2 separate regions of the Homo sapiens genome follow, and region 1 is linked to region 2. Evidence: promoter capture Hi-C in 16 types of primary human blood cells and fetal thymus (Javierre and others, 2016). All regions are on one chromosome and are shown on one strand. Each heading gives the region's core, a stretch centred on a gene start or on the middle of the fragment in contact. The rest is flanking DNA. Distances are from core to core; before and after follow the strand shown. Region 1 overlaps ZC3H7A (zinc finger CCCH-type containing 7A). Region 2 holds the start of PRM2 (protamine 2).

Region 1 (3,538 bases), core at 238-2,737, 520 kb after region 2:
AAGTAGCAGAGCTCAATTTCAAAGGCAGACAGCCTGGCTCCAAGCCTGAGAGCCTATCCACCTGGCTCTTCTGCACATTACGTGCCAAAGACGCCTGGAGGGGAGTGAGCATCTGTCTAGGGTGGCCCTGGGCTGGGCTCTGAAAGACAAATATGGCTCTGATGAACAGGTGGGCACTTTAAAGCCATTCAGGAGAAATGAAAGAAACACACGCATGCGTGTGCACTTGTGTACACAAAAAGATATGCTCAACAGACGTCATTTAATGCAACTCAGACAAAGCAGAGGGCTTTCACAGGAATGCAGTAGGCCAGGAGTCTGGACATCACTCCAGGGAAAATCTTTCAAGGGGATCTGCTCCACCCAGAACATAATGTATTTAAATACAAATAATATTAAAACAGCCTTACTTACAAGATGTACTAACACAGGACCAAAGTCTCCCAGTGAAGGCAGTGCAGAGGTCACCTAGCACAGCATTTGTACTTTTGCCTAAAAAGGTATCCCTACATTTCAAGTGAAAAATTACAGGCTGGGTGCAGTGGCTCATGCCTGTAATCCCAACATTTTAGGAGGCTGAGGTGGGAGGATCGCTTCAGGCCAGGAGTTTGAGACCAGCCTAGGCAACATAGGAGACCCCATCTCTATAAAAATGTTTAAAAAATTAAATGGGCATGGTGGTGTACACTGTAGTGCCAGCTACTCGGGAGACTGAGGCAGAAGGATTGCTTGAGGCCAGGAGTTTGAGGTCACAGCAAACTATGACTATGCCACTATACTCCAACCTGGGTGTCAGAGCAAGATCCTGTCTCAAAAAAAAGGGGGTGGGGGGGAGGAAAAATGATACATTCCACTCCATATTCAATTCTATCCCCAGACTGAAGCCTGTGTAATATTAATAGCTTTAAAACAACAACTACAAAGTAGTTAAAGTATCATTATTGTCATCCTTAATTGGCAACAGTATATTAACTGGCTCTTGCAACACTTACAAAAGCACCTGGGGCACAAGGCAAGCCTCAGAAGGCTGCAAACCCAGATGATAAGACATTAAAGTTGTTGAAGCTCCTATTGGATACTTTATGAAACAGTTTCTCCCTTTTACTGAAAAGGAAAATTTCATGAGAGACAGTATGCCAAACAACAGCAGGAAGGTAATGTTACATTTTGGCTGGAGTTCTTCCCCCCACAGGAACTATTCACTTTGAAATTGCTGTCAGATTTCAGATTCAGTAAGATACAAAGTCTGTGAAGAGCCTGAAGAGCCTCCCTCTGCGAAGAGGCTCCGCCTGCCAAGAGCCTCCCTCGGCACCCACGCCCTGCTAAGTGGTGGTTCCCAGGAACATCTCATCTTATCTATGACCTCTGTATGGAAGAACTCAACAGGAATATTTCATGTAAAAGCTTCATGACAAATGATTTGCCTGGGGACACTGATACCACCACGATGTACCCAAGACCGCCAGCCGATGAAGTCTTCCCAACCAAGTAACCCCAACACACTCTCACCTTCTTACCAAATGTGCCAGATTAATGTCCTGCTCCAAATTCAGGCCTTTTCAGAAAACATAAAGCTTCCCGCTTTCTATTTGTGAAAAAGTAACCTCGTTGCTTTACATAAACGAAAATCACCTCATTTAATATGCCTTTTGTGTACATGTAAATTAAAACGTTATCACTAGCAGTAATTTTTAAACTTCTGGATTAATACTTTAATACTTCTCTCCTCCTTAAAAATTATCTAAAATTTCTTCTTGATTTGCCAACACCTCACACTTTAAGTAATTTTCATAAGGATTCTGGAGAAAAATATTTTCACTAGAAAAAAAACAAAACAAAACAGAACACTTCCAGACGTTATCCAGAAGACAAAAGTTTGCTCACATCATACTGTCTCTAGAAAGCCCTTTCTAGGGTATCTGTGGCAACAGGATACAGACGTCTTTTGTTTCTTTCTTCCTTTACTGAAATGCTCAAAACTTTCCAACAGTCACTCTCACCATCCCTGGAGTTGAGAGTTTCTATAATTGATTCTCTTCCACTTACAATGACAATTTAACCCACCCCAACTGGCAGGTTTTAAAATCAGTCAAAACTAAGAATTGTGGAACAATGTGGCTGACAAGCCACCATTCTTATTTGCAAAAACTGACAGAATCTGGGGAATGGGAAGGAAAGAGGGTGTAGGTCTGTGTAAAACCCCCAACGAAAAGTCACAGTAACATGAAGAAAGGCAGGAATTCTCCACTTCGTTTGGATGGCAGAAAATCAACGGGCTCTTTGTAGAATAAACACACACACACAAACACACACGCACAAATATTGATAATATTGAGCCTCAACAACTCATGATCTCATCCTGAGACAAACCTCATACAACTATTTGTAGCCTCCAGCATACAGCAGATAGGGAAAATTTTTCAACAGGGAAAATACTGTCCATTAACTTGAATTATTCTGCAAATTAGGACAAGACCCATTGTGCAATTCAGTTCAACAGTTTGGCTCAGTATGAGAAGGAAGAGGCAGTGGATTCTTTGAGAGCTTAAGGGAAGGAGGCCACATGCCATCAGAGAAGCAGGAAAGATAAGCAGATAGACATGTCTTCTCAGGGCCACCACCCATTCAGATGCCCCAGCTGCGCGCTGTCCAGTCGAAATATTGTACAAAATATATTACACAAAATAAGCCATACGTGTCATTGTATGTATGTATGTATGTACGCATGTATGTGGAGAGGGAGTCTCGCTCTGTTGCCCAGGGAGGAGTGCAGTGGCACAATCTCGGCTCACTGCAACCTCTGCCTCCCGGTTCAAACGATTCTCCTGCCTCAGCCTCCCCAGTAGCTGGGATTACAGGCGCCTGCCACCACGCCTGGCTGATTTTTGTATTTTTACTAGAGACGGGGTTTCTCCATGTTGGCCAGGCTGGTCTCGGAATTCCTGACCTCAGGTGATCCACACACCTCGGCCTCCCAAAGTGCTGGGATTACAGACGTTGAGCCACCCCGCCCGGCCCGTATATGTCATTTTAAATTTCCAAATAGCCACACTAAAAAAAGAGAAAAAGAAAAGCAGTGAGATTAACTTTTGTTTTTTTATTTGTTTGTTTTGAGACAGTGTCCCAGGCTGGAGCACAAAGGCACAATCTCAGCTCACCGAAGCCTCAATCTCCTGGGCTCAAGGGATTCTCCCACCCCAGCCTTCCGAGTAGCAGATTCTCCCACCTCAGCTTCCCGAGTAGCTGACTACCGGCGTGCGCCACCACGCCCAGTTAATTTTTTGTATTTTTTGTAGAGACAGGGGTCTCACTATGTTGCTGAGGCTGGTCTTGAACTCCTGCACTCAAACGATCCTCCTGCCTCAGCCTCCCAAAGTTTTGGGATGACAGGCATGAGCCACTGCATCCTGCCAAGATTAATTTTAATGATCTATTTTCGTTAATCCAATTTGTCCCAAACATGACCATCTCAACATGCATTTAAGTATAAAAGATTACCAATGACATCTTTTACTTTCTTTCTCATCCGAAGTTTTTA
Region 2 (3,579 bases), core at 337-2,836:
ATGATGTAAGGATTGTGAGATGGGGAGGTTATCTTGGGTTGTCCAGAAAGTCCCTCAGTGCAATCACAAGGGTCCTTGATTTCAGACAGGAGGGAGGAGTGATGCAGCCACAGGCCGAGGAGAGCAGGCAACAAGGATCGGATTCTGCCTGGGTCTCCAGAGGCTTCAGCCAGCACAGGCCTCACACAGCGCAGCCCATTACTCTGCATTCATCTACTCCTTGCCTTTTGCCGTCTCTGTGCTGACCAAGTTGTTGCTGGAGCATGCCAGACCTGTTTCCCACCTCGAAGCTGTGGCCTGCACTGAGCAGTGCCCCCACCTCTGCCCCCACCGTTTACACTTCCAACCACCCAACACTCAAGATGGGTTGTGTTTTTAAACTGTGGCACACAGTAGGCATTTAAATATGGCCACAAGGTGCCTTGGCATCTTTGTGACTTAATTAGGACTCGATCTGTTCTAACCATTTTCTCCTTTCATGAGGTAGGATCAGGTTCTTCACTGGAGGGGGATCCAGACAGACTAATGTGGCCTTTGACACCATGGAAGGATGCACAATAGACAGGACAGCATCATAGGGTGGCCTCCCAGGCACAGTAACCCTCTCCTAGGTGTCCTGAGAGCATCAGAACTCCCGCCCTACCTGCCTCTGAGGAAGGGCTGCAGAGAAGCCTCTACCCGCCCTGGGCGTGAGGGAAGCCAGGTTTGTGTGATTCGTGCAAAGAAAACCCGACAGGCCAGCGAGTGTCTTGTCAAGCTTTATTGGGCAGGTGACTTTTGCTCGTTTCACTCAGATCTTGTGGGCTTCTCGGCGGCAACTCAGGGCTTGAGCATTTGATGTAGGGGAGTTGCTATGGCCTCACTCGGTGTTTCTTGGGCAGGTGACTTTCTCTTAACTTCCAGCTGGGGGCTTGAGCATTTGATGTAGGGGAATTGCTATGGCCTCACTTGGTGTTTCGGGCGACTTTTTCTTAATTTCCAGCTGGGGGTGAGGGGCCCAGGAAGCTTAGTGCCTTCTGCATGTTCTCTTCCTGGTTCTGCAGCCTTTTGGGAAAGAAAGTTCTGGTTGAGGGGGTCACCTAGGGACTCTGGGTGGGGACGGGGGTTAGGGGGCTGGAGCTTTTGTCAGGTGGGGTGGGTCCCCGCCTCCCTCCTGTGCCTGGGGTGGTCAGGGACATGCAGGGCAAGGCGGGGGCGCAGGCAGACCTCTGCGATGCCTCCTCCGGTGCCTGCAGGAGCGTCTTTTGCGCCTTCTGCAGGAGCGATGCTGCCGCCTGTGGATCCGGTGCAGCCTCCTTCGAGAGCAGTGTCTGCGCCTATAGTGAGACTGGCCATGGGTCCTCTCGTAGACCTCGACGTGCTCCGGGCTCAGCCCTTGCTCCTCTTGGCCGTGGTGTCCTTGCTCTTGCCCATGCAACTGCTGCCTGTACACCTCGTGCGAGCGTTCGCTCAGGCTCCTCACGCGGTATCGGACCATGGTGTTGGGAGATCTGGTGGCTCCTGGGCTGAGGCTGCAGTGGGCCCTGGAGTAGGGGAGGAGGGCGGAGGCCTGCCCACCTGCCCTTGGTGTTACTGTTGGTCTGGTCTGCAAGGCTCCCCGGGAGCTTGTATATAAAGGGGGCGCCCACTATGACTCTGCGGCCCCGCCCAGTCCCCACCCTGCCCAGCCTCCTCTGTGAGGGCAGCACAGGGCCAGGGGTCACAACTAGCAGGGCCCTGGCACCCAAGCTGCAGGGCTGGAAGGGCGAGAGACCCCCTTGCCTTGCCTGTAAAGCATGTCCTCTGTCTCTTGCAGTAGGTGAACCATACAGATGGCAGGTGTTTTATTGCCTAATCCAAGCCCTCATCTCCCCAAGCCGGTGGGTGCGCACATTGTCATTTGGAAGCTTCCTTGCCAACTCACTGCTGTGCCACAGCCACCATGTGGAAGGGACTTCCGTGCTTGGATCTCTGTGCACACAGCTTACTGTTAAGATGGCAACAGCAGCAAACAGTTCCCTAATAGCTCCTATGTGCCAAGCATTGATTCATTTATTTCCCATACATTCACTCATTCTCTCTCTCTCTCTCTCTCTCTCTCTCTCTCCTCTTTTTGTTTTGAGGCACTGTCTGTCGCCCAGGCTGGAGTGCAGTTGTGCAATCATGGATCATAGCAGCCTCTACCCCTCCAGCTCAGATGATCCTGCCACCTCAGCCTCCCGAGTAGCTGGGACTATAGGCGTGTGCTGCCACTCCCAGCTAATTTTTTGTATTTTTTGTGGAGATAGATAGGGTTTCACCATGTTGCCCTGGCTGGTCTCACACTCCTGGCCTCAGTGAGCCTCCCATGTCGGCCTCCCAGAGTGCTGGGATTACAGGTGTGAGCCACCACCCTTGCATTCCTCACTCTTACAATCCTCATTTTCTGTGGGGCAAACAGGCATGAAGAAGTTGAGTTGCTCAAGGCCACTCTGCTGAGAAGGCCAGGCCGGGCCAGCATTCAGACGGAGACAGCCTGGTTTTAGTCATACCCTTGGCTCTCCACCTCCTCCCTAGCCCAGGGAATGCTCCCCTCTCCGCCTCCAAAATATTCATCTTCTCCCCTCCCGCTCGGCCTTGCCGGGGCTTCTCATTGAACTTTGATGATCCCATTAAAGTCCGGGATCAGAATCACAGAAACTGCAAAACCAGTTTCCCTTTCATGGAGGGCAGGGAGAATGTGGGAATGTGGCAGATACACAAATTTAAGGACTTGAAGATGCAGAGATCATCCCAGATGATCTGGGTTGGCCCAGTGCAGTCACGAGGGTCCTTAGAAGAGAGAATAGGGAGGCAGGAGGGTCACAGGAAGAGAAACTGGGAGACACCACACTGCTGGCTTTGAAGATGGAGGGAGAGGCTATAAGCCAAGGGATGCAGGCGGCCTCTAGAAGCTGGGATGGACAAGGAAATGGGTTATCCTCCCCTCGTGCATCCAGGAGGAACACAGCCCTGCTGACCCCTTGATTTTAGCCCCATGAGACTTCTTTCAGAATTCTGACCTGCAGACCTGTAAGATAATGCATTTATGTTGTTTAAAGCTACAAAATTTGTGATGATCTGTCACAGTGGCAATAAGAAACAAATTCAGGAGGCTTAATCTTCAGATCCTTACAGGAGGTGATGGGTGATATTGCCATGCCCTTGGTGTTTCTATGCTGCCTCTCTTTAGGGATAAGAAGGTCCTTTATGATGGCCCTCAAGCTCTTCGAGGGCGCGTGTTAAAAATATGAATGCTGAGGCCTTACCCTACGTCCCGCTAAGTCAAATCTCCATGGCCAAAGCTTGCAGATGAAAATAAGAAGGGGCGGGGCAGGGCTCGGTGGCTCACACCTGTAATCGTAGCACTTTGGGAGGCTGAGGCGGGTGGATCACCTGAGGTCAGAAGTTCAAGACCAGCCTAGTCAACATGGTGAAACCCTGTCTCTACTAAATATACAAAAATTAGCCGGGAGTGGTGGCGGGCGCCTGTAATCCCAGCTACTCAGGAGGCTGAGGCAGGAGAATTGCTTGAACCCAGGAGGCAGAGGTTGCAGTGAGCTGAGATGGCACCATTGCGCT

Evidence for each region. The method cuts DNA at HindIII sites, captures the fragments that hold promoters and counts their contacts. A CHiCAGO score of 5 or more calls a contact.
Region 1: a fragment that was not itself captured here is called in contact with the fragment with the promoter of PRM2 in region 2 in 1 of 17 cell types (activated CD4 T cells); the score reaches 5.4 in activated CD4 T cells.

What each region holds. Positions count from the first base shown.
Region 1 is chr16:11,792,721-11,796,258 of GRCh38, forward strand. All of the region lies in intron 1 of ZC3H7A (zinc finger CCCH-type containing 7A), which reads right to left. Among named protein-coding and RNA genes, the nearest start is that of ZC3H7A, 2.8 kb to the right of the region's middle. The HindIII fragment of the contact is 170 bases long and covers 1,403-1,572 here.
Region 2 is chr16:11,274,894-11,278,472 of GRCh38, forward strand. PRM2 (protamine 2) reads right to left here and starts at 1,587. Exons shown (of 2, transcript NM_002762.4): 1 at 1,207-1,587; 2 at 746-1,044. The coding sequence starts at 1,477. The coding sequence ends at 1,007. All of the region lies in intron 1 of LOC105371082 (a long non-coding RNA gene), which reads left to right. The HindIII fragment of the contact is 881 bases long and covers 1,004-1,884 here.